Regions from separate parts of the Homo sapiens genome. Here regions 2, 3 and 4 are each linked to region 1. The links are contacts of gene promoters, found by promoter capture Hi-C in human tissues and cell types (Jung and others, 2019). All regions are on one chromosome and are shown on one strand. Each heading gives the region's core, a stretch centred on a gene start or on the middle of the fragment in contact. The rest is flanking DNA. Distances are from core to core; before and after follow the strand shown.

Region 1 (2,865 bases), core at 318-2,817:
GTAAATGTAAGAAGACTAGTACTCAGGTTCATATACTTTTAACAGGAGCTTGTTGAAAGAAACGTTAACAATTCCAAAACTAAACTAAACGAATTTTAAGTTTTTTCTCCCAAAAGCATAAAAATGGAGACGATCTTAACAGGAAATTCTTAAAAGGTAAAAACAACTCTTCCTTGTACTAGTCCTTGGGTAGTTACCATACAACAGGTTCTTCTTTTTGTTAGTTTCGTTGAAAAGGGATTTTTGGTCCCAAGTCTGTTCCTGCTTAGTATCTGCTCCGGCCTCCTCCTCTCTCCAAGCGGCCTCCTAGACGGCCTCCGCCCCTGGGCACCCTGCAGCCTGACCGGCTGTAAGAATCACGCTGGGGAGGGCAGCCCCTTTCCATGGACAGAGAGAGCCCACGATCTGGTCTGCCCACCCGGTGTCGGCCCCTCGAGTAGCGGTCGCTCCGGCCATAACTGCTGCTGTAACTGTCGCGGCCGCCGCTGTAGGCATCGGGTGAGTAGCCCCGGTACTCCTCGTAGCGGCCTCCTCCTCCGTAAGATGGCGGTGTCCCCCGTCCTGGGGCGGCGCCGCGCAGCTCTCCGTAGCTCTCAAAGGGCTCTCGATGGGAGCCTCTGCTCAGATGATCCCCGTAGTCACGGTCGCGACCTCCGTAGCCGTCTCGGTCGCTGTAGCCTCTCAAGGGACAGTCGTCCCGGACACTGGAGTGGCCGTAATCGCGGTGGGTGTACTCTCCGGGCGAGGGGGCAAAACCCCGGGGTTCGCGGTAGTCTCGGCTCGAGTAGCCGTCTCTGGACGAGTAGCCCTCATCCCGCGGGCCCAGGTAGGGGTCGCGGCGCGGGGGCAGCGGCTCCCGGCGCGGTGGGCCTGAGTAGCCGTCTCGCCCCCGCACGGCCAGGGCCCTCCCGCGCATTCCACCGCCGCTGCTGCGAGCCGGGCCCGACGGCGCGGCCCTCTTGGGGGGTGGGCCGACCCTGCGCGGCGGCGGCCCACGCTTCATGGGCATCGGGGCCCTGGAGGGCCGCAGGTCGAAATCCGCCGTGTAGCCGCCGTCATCATCGGGCCCGCCCCGGGATGGGGAACGCCGCGGGCCGCCGCCACCCCCGCGGGTTCCGCGCAGGAACCTCGGGCGACCGCGGCTGCGGGGAGGCGGCGGGCCCCGCCGGCTGCTCTCGAACGCCGGTTTGGTGGCCTGGGCCACCTTGATGGCCTTACCATCCAGGGACTTGCCGTTCATGTCTCTGGCGGCGGCCTTGGCGTCTGCGGGGCTTTCAAAGGTGACGAACGCGAAGCCCCTCGACTTGTTGGTTTCTCGGTCTTTCATCAGGAGCACCTCGACGATGCGGCCATACTTGCCAAACTCGGCTTCGAGGGCTTTCTCGTCGGTTTCGAGGTTGAGGCCCCCAATGAACAGCTTCCCCGGGCGATCCGCTTCAACCATGTTTGCCGGTCGAACGGTCGGTCAGTGGCGGTGGGAGGCGGTGAGGCGGCGCCAGTCGCAGCCTTCGAGCTCGCTCGTCGAGGGCGGCTCCTACTGGTCAGGCGGCGCCTAGTCGCCGAGTCCACGGAACCGCAGCCGGAGCCCCGCTGCAGGGCGCGCCCCTGCTGCCTGTGATTGGTCGGCTGTTTCCAGAGGGCCAATTCGCCGTCGGGAAAGTCGGCAGTTTTGTGTCTCCTTTTCAGTCTTTAACTTCCTGTTCACCTGACCCGGTCTTAACGGCTTCAATGGCCTCCTGAAAGCTCAGGGAAAAGCCGTTAGGTGGAAAAAAATTTTTTTCTATTAGTTTTAATGAGAACAATTGTAATGATCCCAAACCTAAGCTACCCAAACCATTTTCAAACAGAAAAAAATAGTATGAATTTTTTAAATTACTAAAATTATTAAGTTAAAAATCATTTTTCAATTATTGAAAAATAGAGTAATAACAGTTAACAAGTTTAAATTTTACCTTACTGATCTTTTTAAACTAATCAGCTTTTAGCCTCGTCTATCCTCTGTTTTGATTTTATTTGGTGCTATTGTCTTTATTCTTTCTACATTTATTGGATTTATTGTTTATATTATTTTGTTCTAATTTTTTAAATAAGACACTTAGCACATTAAGAGTTTAAAAAATGTTTCTTCTAATTGTTATATTTAAGGTTAAAACTTATTCTCTATGCACTGGTTAATATCATGCCTTGAGCTGTAATATATGTTGTTTTCATTGTTGTTCAGTTCCTAAGATTTTCTCATCTTTGTTATTTCCTTTTTGGACCATGTATTAAAGAAGTATGTTTGTAAATTTTCAAACATATGTGCCTGTTGGTTATTTTTTAATATGCTCTGTACGATATCCATTGTTTTTCGTTGAGACTTGCTTTGTGACCTAATATGGTGTAATTAATGTTCCATATATACTGAGCAGAAAGTGTATTCTCTAAATGTTGGACAAAGTTCTTTCTTATTTTCTGATATTTAAATCTTCCCTTTTCTAACTTGTTTTTTATTTGATAGAATTGCCAAACACTAGAACTGTCTTAAAATTTACCATAATTGTGGATTTGTAAATTTCTCTTTGTCTTTATGTCTGGTTTTTGCTTCATGTAATTTAAGGTTATATTGTGAGATATATAAAAATTGAGAATTGCTACGTATTTCTGGTGAATACCTTTTTTATGTAATGATCCTCCTTATTCGTAAAAACCTTTTTACCTTAGTCCATTTTGTGTGATGCTTATAACTTTCGGTACTTTTGCAATTTCTTCCTAAATCTTTGCTATCAGCCAAACCTTTCCTTCTTCCTTTTTTCCATCTTTCTTGCCTTTTCTTGTAGTAAGTGATTTGTCTTTGTTTCTTTTTCCTCCACTATGGAAGAAGTT
Region 2 (2,947 bases), core at 285-2,784, 440 kb before region 1:
CATTGTCTCCTGTTAACATGAAATCCTGCGTCACTGCAGCCCAGATGCTCCCCCAACTTCTTCCTCTGAATATTTCCTCTGTCTTCTCAGTGGTTACTATTGCCTCGCAGGTGGTCTCAACTTTTCTCTCCAGGCTGAGGAAAAGCCTCCCATTAGGAAGTCTGAAGGACCCTGGGTCCACCCTGAGGACAGAAGCAAGGCGTGGCCACCAGGGCTAGATCTGAGTTCTGAGCTCCAGGAGGAAGGCCAAACTGGATGGAGAACTGGGCCCTGGGCAGACCTGCTCAGCAACAAAGACTGGCTGACTGTACTAGATATACGCATAAGAACCCCAACTTGAGCAGGCAGTCCTCACCAACACCCACCTGCTCAGAGCTTGAACATGTGATCTGTGAAAACAATGTTGTCCTTTCATGCAGGTATCCCAGCACCCACTCTACACCCCTGCATGGGCAGGCTCTCAGCAAATGCTTACTGAACTGTATCGGTCCCTCCTCTCAACCCCTACAGCCCCACCTGGGTTACTGCCCACATTTCTCTGACTCTTACCCTCATCCCACGCTTCCAAACCTCTTGGAGTACCACTCTTGCTAAACATCTCTTAGGGCTGACACCTTGGTATCCTAAACAGGTAAGGTTGGTTGTAGGTAACTTGTTACTAATGATAGAAGCTTTTTGTATAAATTAGAGAAGATTCAGGCTTATCTTGCCCCATTCTAATATACTTTATTGAAGGGATGAGAAAATACTGGAATTCAGCCAGCAATTCAGAAATTGCCTATAGTGGTCTGGGAGTAACAGTTTCTATTGTAATGTGAAAACTGCATTTAGGAAGTTAGAGATTAACTTCCTAAATATATATGTGTATGCATGCATATATATGTATTAGAACTCAGATATGCTTTGTGACTATCTGGCCATGTCCACTAAGTGCCTCTCAAAGGTTAATGTGGTTTGCCATGTGCCATCTGACCATCTTCCTGCCTAAATACGGTAAGAACAGGTCTTCACTGTAAATTTAAGACTGCATAATCTGGACTCTAAACATAGTGGCAAGATTAAGTGGAAAGAACAGAGTTTGGGGTCAGGCAGCCTGGACATCAATTTTATTTTGGCCACTCACCACCTAGGGAAACTTGAGATGATCAGGTATCTTCTTGAAGCCCATTTCCTCCTCAGTTAAAGCCCTGAAAGGCTGCTTTGAAATTTAAGTGAGCACAGACTCTGTGCTCAATGCCTGATGCATGATGGGTACTTCATAGACGGTAATTTCCAATCCCTGGTGCCCTATTTAACTTCGTTTACTCTTCAGTTCCAGCCAAATCATGCCGCCAGTTGTTTTCCACAGGTGCCCCTTAATTGGCATTACTCATGCCTTCCTTTGTGCACTGCTGTTCCCTCTGCCAGCAATTCCCTTCAGCCCCATAGAAACGGGCAACTCTGGTCCCTGTCTTTCCTTCAGGACACACCTCAAATGCCACCTCCTCAGCAAGCCAGGCCCCCCCAACATCTTTCTCTGAATATTAACTGTATTTTCTCAGCAGTTACTACTATCTGTTTGAGTAAGGGGGTACATTTCTTAAGTTCCATTCAGTCAGGGGACATGTCTGTTCATCTTGTGGTCCCATCATCACCATTCTCAGCATAGACAATGGTTCAAAAATTATTTAGAGGCTGAAATAATAAATACTGTCACAATCCTACTGATTCCACAGTACCTGAGAAGTATGCTCTACCTCTGCTGCTAAAGGGTAGGTTTCCCCAGATCCAATGGGCCAGTTCTGACCTTGGGGTTCCATGGCCACTCTTCCTACCATTCTTGCCAGACTCCTTCCCTGCCACCCAGACCAAGATATCACACTGCTCAGACATCCACGTTGCCTAACCACAGCAACTCTCTCCTCCCATACACCACACCCCACCCAAAACCTCAGCCTACTTGAATGAGGCCCTGGTACCCACATCCCTTCCTTGCCTCCCCTCCCAGGGATGGAACCTTGCTCACTCTATGGCCCAAGGTGCAGACAGTCAGACTTCCTAGGGTATGGTAGGTATAGAAGGGAGTGATCCAGGAGGACATTCTTGTGACCAGTGTCCTCCTGGATCACTCCCTTCTATACCTGCTATGCCCTCTAGGATGCTGTGAACCCAGCTGTCTCACACCACATACCCTGGTTCTCCAGGTCTCAGGATGGTGTGTTCTCAAAATCTTCAAGGGGTGGCAAGTGAGTCTAAAACAGCTTTCAGATGGTTGGGCCAAGGTAGGCATCAGCAAAGAATATACACAGTCCAGTCACTTCTTGGGATCATAGTCTCATTTTCAGCCCACAAAGACATTTGCTCAGAGCCTTTCCCCTCTCCCAGCCCTTGTCACTAAGTGGGATGTTCAGCCTGCGACTTGGGATAGAGAAGCTTCCGCATAGTCACGCCGGGCTAATTTTTTGTATTTTAGTAGAGATGGGGTTTCACCGTGTTAGCCAGGATGGTCTCAATCTCCTGACCTCGTGATCTGCCCACCCTCGGCCTCCCAAAGTGCTGGGATTACAGGCGTGAGCCACCGCACCCGGCCGCTTCTGCACAGCTTTAAGGCTGCTCTTTCCCCAGCCTCCCACCCTCACTCCAGCCTACATCTGCTGCAAGTCATTTCTGCTCAGAAGCCACCAATTATTCCCCACTACCGACAGGGTAAAGTCCAGCTTCTTAGTTTGGCATTCAAGTTCCTTTTCCCTTAGAGTCCCAACTTCTTTCTTTGACTTTTAATAATGGGAAGAGTCTAGCTAAGCTGGTTTCCTTATTATTTCTCGATCCCACTTCACTCACTTGGGCTTCTATGCCTTTTACTCACTTGACTGACCAGGGATCCCCAGAGAGCCTTTTCTTCCCAGCTCCCCAGGATCCCACCCCAGTTGGTTGATCCACAAAGCCTTCCCTTTGCCAAAATCTTACA
Region 3 (2,755 bases), core at 217-2,716, 420 kb before region 1:
CCTAAATACCATACTGGTCTTCATGGTTAGCCCACCATCTTCACACAATAGCTATCTTATATCTTCCCCACACTGCCCCACACACCCCGCCCTGGCCAGTCCCTTCACCAACAGCAGATTAACTCCTTTGAAAAAACAAATACCATTAGACATGAACTCTTTTCACTTCCTCTCCTCACTTATAAACTTTTCTTTAGTTGTTCCCCTGTCGCTACCCTCACACACATCTTAGAAGAAACTGTGTCATTTCTCCTGTCCAAGACTAATATATTCACTTGTACTGTGATCTCATCCTTTCCTGGCTTCTTCTAGACTTCCTTGATGAATTATCCCTTTTCTGTTATCTTTAATTTCTCCTTTGTTACTAGATTCTTAGCTTATAAGCATCTAGCCTATATTAAAACAACAACAACAATTCACCTTCAACTAGGCACCTTTTTCTAGTTGCTTCATTTCTCTTTCCATCATTTTATAGCCAGCTTCTCCTACAGAGTAGGCTATACTCTGTATCTACATCTTCACCTCCCATTCTTTTACTTCACCATAACTCCATAGAAATTATTCTTTATAATGTTACCAGGAACCTTATAACTGAAAACTCAAATAGACCTTTTGTGTCCATATTTTACTTGATCTTTCTGGAGCATGGTCAGTTCTTCCTCCTTGAAGATTGATATGAATCAGGATAAGATCAGCTCTACTGGTCATTTCAAGATAAGTCGGTCATCAGTTCTAATTTTGGACATTTTTTTTAAGACAGGTGAGACAGGTTTTTACTCTATTAGACAGGCTAGAGTGCAGTGGCATGATCGTGGCTCACTGTAGCCTCAACTTCCCGAGCTCAAGCAATCCCCCCACCTTCTCCTCCTGAGTAGCTGGTACTAAAGATGCATACCACCAGGTCCAGCTAATTTTGTTTATTTTTTGCAATGATGAGGTCTACTATGTTGCCCAGGCTAGTCTCAAACTCTAGGACTCAAGTGGTCCTACTGCCTTGGCCTCCCAAAGTGCTAGGATTATAGGCATGAGACACCACTCCAATCCAGTTGTGGACTTCTTGTTGGGACTGCCTTGTCAGGCCATCCGTTGTGAGATGAGTAGTGTCATGGAAGCAGGGAGTGGTGGTCTTGCTAGGAGCATGAGGAAACTTGCAGGTCTACCTCAAATCCTGCTGAGGTTTCTATTATGGGTAGGAAAGAGTAGTCTTAATAAGAGCATAGGAATGCTGGGCCTCCCTCATTGACTTCTGGGTGTGAGGTAGTGGAATGATAGTTAGATAGAGTCTTTAAAGGACAACTGAGCACTCTGAGGAGCTCCTTCAAATCCTTTGAAAGGGTTTGGTATAAGAAGCTGGATGTGGACCAGGCACCGTGGCTCACACCTGTAAGCCCAGCACTGTGGAAGGCCAAGGCAGACAAATCACTTGATCTCAGGAGTTCAAGACCAGCCTGGGCAACAGAGTGAGACCCCATCTCTAAAAAAAAAAAAAATACAATAATTAGCTAGGTGTGGGGGCGTGTACCTGTAGTCCCAGCTACTCAGGAGGCTGAGGTAGGAGGGTCACATGCACTCAGGAGGTGGAGATTGCAGTGAGCTCAGATTGTGCCACTGCTTTCCAGCCTGAGTGAGAGAGCCAGACCCTGTCTAAAAAAAAAAAAAAAATGCTGGATGTGTCAGCAGCAGGTTGTCATTTTCCTAATCAGTGCTTGGGTTCTTAAAGCCCACTGAAGGTCAACTGGAGTCAGAGGACAAGAAACAGGATGAAGGAAAGAAGACTGGACAGGAGGAAGAGAGATGCATAGTGAGATGGGTTCCAGAGGTTCGGAGGTAAGCAAGCATGTTAGCAAACTGTTTGCTATATGCCAGCTGTGTGGGCAGCAGTCCTATCATGCTTTCCATATGACTATCACACTTTCTCATCTCCCTGCAAGCCTCTGTCATACCCTCGCATGGAGATCTTCCCACTTACTCCGTGAGAAAGTAGAAGCAATCCTAGGAGAACTACATCATCTCCTGCCTGGACTACTGTAGCAGTCTCCTACATGGTGTTCATGCCTCCATACTTGCCTCCCATAGTCCAATTCCCACAGCAGCCAAAGGCGTGCTTTTAAAATGTAAGTCACATCATGTCCTGTGTCTGCTTGAAACCCTCCATTGGCTTCTCATTTCACTCAGAGTGAAATGGATAAAGCTCAGGCCTTTACCTCCAAAGCCACATATAAGCTGTTCTCCTACTGCTTCTCTCTTTGTTCTCCCTCTCCTTGTCCCCTACAACTTCTCCACCTTGTTCGTTTTGTTCTATCACACTGACTTCTGCTATTTCTCAGATTGTACCAAACACACTCCTGCCTTGGGGACTTGGCACTTTTCGTTCCCTCTGCTTGGAAACAAATATCTACATGACTTCCTCCCTTGCTGCCTTTATGCCTGTTCTCAAATGGTCCTTGGTCATTTAGACCTTTTCCCGTCACCCTATAAAAAAGGCAACCCTCTTCTCCAGCTCTCCAGGGACTCCTTTACCCTAGATCATTTTTCTCCATAGTGCTTATTATCTTTTGTCTGACATACATTTGTTATTAGCATATTATTGCTTAATTCCCCTCAATAAAATATAAACTCCATGAGGGTATAAGCTTTGTCTTATCTGTTTCATTCACTACTGTATGCCTTGTTCCTAGAATAGCATCTGGCACATAGTAGTTCCATATTTTCTGAATGAATAATGAATTTTCAACAACCAAATCCATCAACAAAC
Region 4 (2,737 bases), core at 99-2,598, 470 kb before region 1:
AGAAGACACCATAAACCACTAATGCTGGATATGCCTAAATATAAGGCAAGATTTGCCCCCCAGATTTCTCAGAAAAGGGTAATTCAACTTACAGTCAAGCCTAAAGTTTCTCTTTGGGGAATTCTATTTATTTCATTTTGAGCAACAAAGCAGTATTTAGAGTAGCACAAATATTTTCAACTTTCAATGCACATTGAAGTCACCTGAGCGGTTTTACAAACTCCAGATGCCTGGGCCCTCCTCCAGGGATTCTAATTTAATTGGTCTGAGGTGTGACCTGGGGTAATAAAAAGTTTCCCAGGTGATACTAAAATGATGCTTAAGCTGAAACCATGGCACTAGCAGATCACCTCAATGAAGTCTAGCTTTGATGGTTATAGAGGTCACCTGAGAATTTTTATTTTAAGGAGCAAAACCAAAATTTAATGAAGATTTAATAATTATTTTTGAGGATAAGACCACATACAATGCAAGTGTTATAGGATTTCATTGAAAGCCTTTTTTTCTTTCTTTTTTTTTTTTTGAGACAGAGTTGCTCTGTTACCCAGGCTGGAGTGCAGTGGCGTGATCTCAGCTCACTGCAACCTCCGCCTCCCAGGTTCCAGCAATTCTCCTGCCTCAGCCTCCCGAGTAGGTGGGAGTACAGGCACGCGCCACCACGCCTGGCTAATTTTTGTATTTTTTTAGTAGAGACGGGGTTTTGCCATATTGCCCAGGCTGGTCTCGAACTCCTGACCTCGTGATCTGCCTGCCTCAGCCTCCCAAAGTGCTGGGATATAGGCGTGAGCCACCGCAGCCAGCTGAAAGCCTTTTAATGATCGCTTTCGAAAGCACATAGGGATGTCTGTGGTAGTGACTGGGGTTGTTCAGATATTTTGTTCTCCTCTACTTGCATTCATAGTAGGCTCACAGTTCTGTCCCTTGAAGTCACTCATGGTCACATAACTTCCTTTGGCCAATAAACAGAAACCATGTGTATCACTGTGGGAGAAAGTCTAAGAGCCAGTACACAATTCCTCATATCTCTTCCACCTGCCCTGACTTCTGGCAATAGTGGAGACTCAATCAGTCTGTGTTCAAGTGAAGATGACAAGGACCAGAGCTCTTGGCAGATCTCAGGGAACTTGCAATGTGTACAAGAAATAAACCTTTGTGTTTCAAACTACTGACATTTGAGTAGTTTCTCACTGCAATATAACTTAGCCTATCTTCATTCATGCAAAATATATATTTTGTACAATTAAGACATATAGACAAGATAAACTTTTAAAGTCTAACCTTTTACCACGTAAATGGAGTTCTTTGGCATGAGATGAAATAGCTGATGACAGCATCATATGTGAATTTTTAAAGTGTTGTATTTAAAACAAATTCCAAGTAAGGATGGCATGTTCTAAAACCTTGCCACTTAAAAGAGGGGTCCACAGGAGTAGCAATAGCAAAACCTGAGAGTTCATTAGAAATACAGTCTCGGATCCCATCCCAGACCTACAAATATGAATCTGCATCCCCAAATGCTCTACAACTGCTCTAGAATGCTAGGATTATTCAAAAAGAGCGCTCAAAATGATAGAAACAAAGATAAATATAAAAAGCTTGAATAAAATTATTTCATCAGATGTGCCAGTGATGGGAATGGTGGTGGGCACCTGTAATCCCAATTACTCAGGAGGCTGAGAATTGCTTGAACCCAGGAGATGGAGGTTTCAGTGAGCCAAGATTATGCCACTGTACTCCAGCCTGGGCAACAGAGCAAGACTCTGTCTCAAAAAAAAAAAAAAAAAAAAGTGCCAATGAGACAAGAAGTTCATAAATTAACATATTATTTTGAATTATTGAAAGCCTTTTACTTAGTGCTTAAACACGTAACTAAATCAATACACTAATATGAGTAAATATTTTGTCTATTTGGGAATATTTGGGCATATGTCATATGTTTTACATAATTAAAGGAGAAAAGGAAGAAATAAAAACCTTAAAGAAAAGGAAAGCATGATTTTAAAAAATAGGAAAATCTGAAAAAAAAAATACAAACCAAAATAAAGAATGCAGCCAAGCAAATTAATTAAGTGAACAGGTTAAATAGCAGATGAGAGAATTATTGGAGAGGAAGATAGATTTGAAGAATGCTGCAAACAGAGACACAAGTGAAAAATATAAAAGAGGAGTTAGGAAGCATGGAATTAAAAAAGGAGGACAAGGTCCAACACAATTCTTCAGGAATTCCAGAAGAATACAGAGGATGAAGCAGAGACAACAAAGAAAATGGCTATGAATTTTTCAGAATGGAAAACTTGAGTCCTCTCAGCTTAAAGACACTCACTGAGTCCCAAGAATGATACATCAAAACAAATCCACCCAAGAAACAACACAGTGAAACTGAAGAACACCAAAGATAAATAAGAAGTTTAAAAACAACCAGAGACAGAAGACAGATACAGATTGCCAGACTTCTCATTAGCAATAAATCCCTGTGACCACAAAATAATACCTATGGATAGTGACCAACCTACAAGCCTGTACAAGATAAACTATCATTCAAGATTATGAACATTTAAGGACATTTTTCAAATGACGACTAATACAATCTATTACTGACAGACTATCAAATTTTAAGGAAGAAAACTATCATGCAAAAAAAGCAGGATGAAAGAATCAACTATGACTGGAGAGGTTGTTAAAACTGTTAAACAAAATGCTATCAACTGAAAAAACAATAATTTGGAGAATACAAAGA

Evidence for each region. The method cuts DNA at HindIII sites, captures the fragments that hold promoters and counts their contacts. A contact is called where the count stands out against the background at its distance.
Region 2: a fragment that was not itself captured here is called in contact with the fragment with the promoter of RBMXL2 in region 1 in 1 of the 25 tissues and cell types used here (H1 embryonic stem cells).
Region 3: a contact is called between a fragment that was not itself captured here and the fragment with the promoter of RBMXL2 in region 1, in 1 of the 25 tissues and cell types used here (H1 embryonic stem cells).
Region 4: a contact is called between a fragment that was not itself captured here and the fragment with the promoter of RBMXL2 in region 1, in 1 of the 25 tissues and cell types used here (H1 embryonic stem cells).

Annotation. Positions count from the first base shown.
Region 1 is chr11:7,087,700-7,090,564 of GRCh38, reverse strand. It overlaps RBMXL2 (RBMX like 2), which reads right to left and starts at 1,567. Exons shown (of 1, transcript NM_014469.5): 1 at 1-1,567. The coding sequence starts at 1,444. The coding sequence ends at 266. It also overlaps a transcript of NLRP14 not described here. The HindIII fragment of the contact is 18,438 bases long and covers 1-2,865 here.
Region 2 is chr11:7,526,212-7,529,158 of GRCh38, reverse strand. The region is part of intron 1 of PPFIBP2 (PPFIB scaffold protein 2); the gene reads right to left. All of the region lies in intron 1 of LOC124902806 (leucine-rich repeat extensin-like protein 5), which reads left to right. Among named protein-coding and RNA genes, the nearest start is that of PPFIBP2, 14 kb to the right of the region's middle. RefSeq lists an enhancer at 219-268. The HindIII fragment of the contact is 3,969 bases long and covers 1-2,947 here.
Region 3 is chr11:7,503,838-7,506,592 of GRCh38, reverse strand. The region is part of intron 2 of OLFML1 (olfactomedin like 1); the gene reads right to left. Among named protein-coding and RNA genes, the nearest start is that of PPFIBP2, 8.8 kb to the left of the region's middle. The HindIII fragment of the contact is 4,572 bases long and covers 1-2,755 here.
Region 4 is chr11:7,556,540-7,559,276 of GRCh38, reverse strand. All of the region lies in intron 2 of PPFIBP2 (PPFIB scaffold protein 2), which reads right to left. Among named protein-coding and RNA genes, the nearest start is that of PPFIBP2, 44 kb to the right of the region's middle. The HindIII fragment of the contact is 3,703 bases long and covers 1-2,737 here.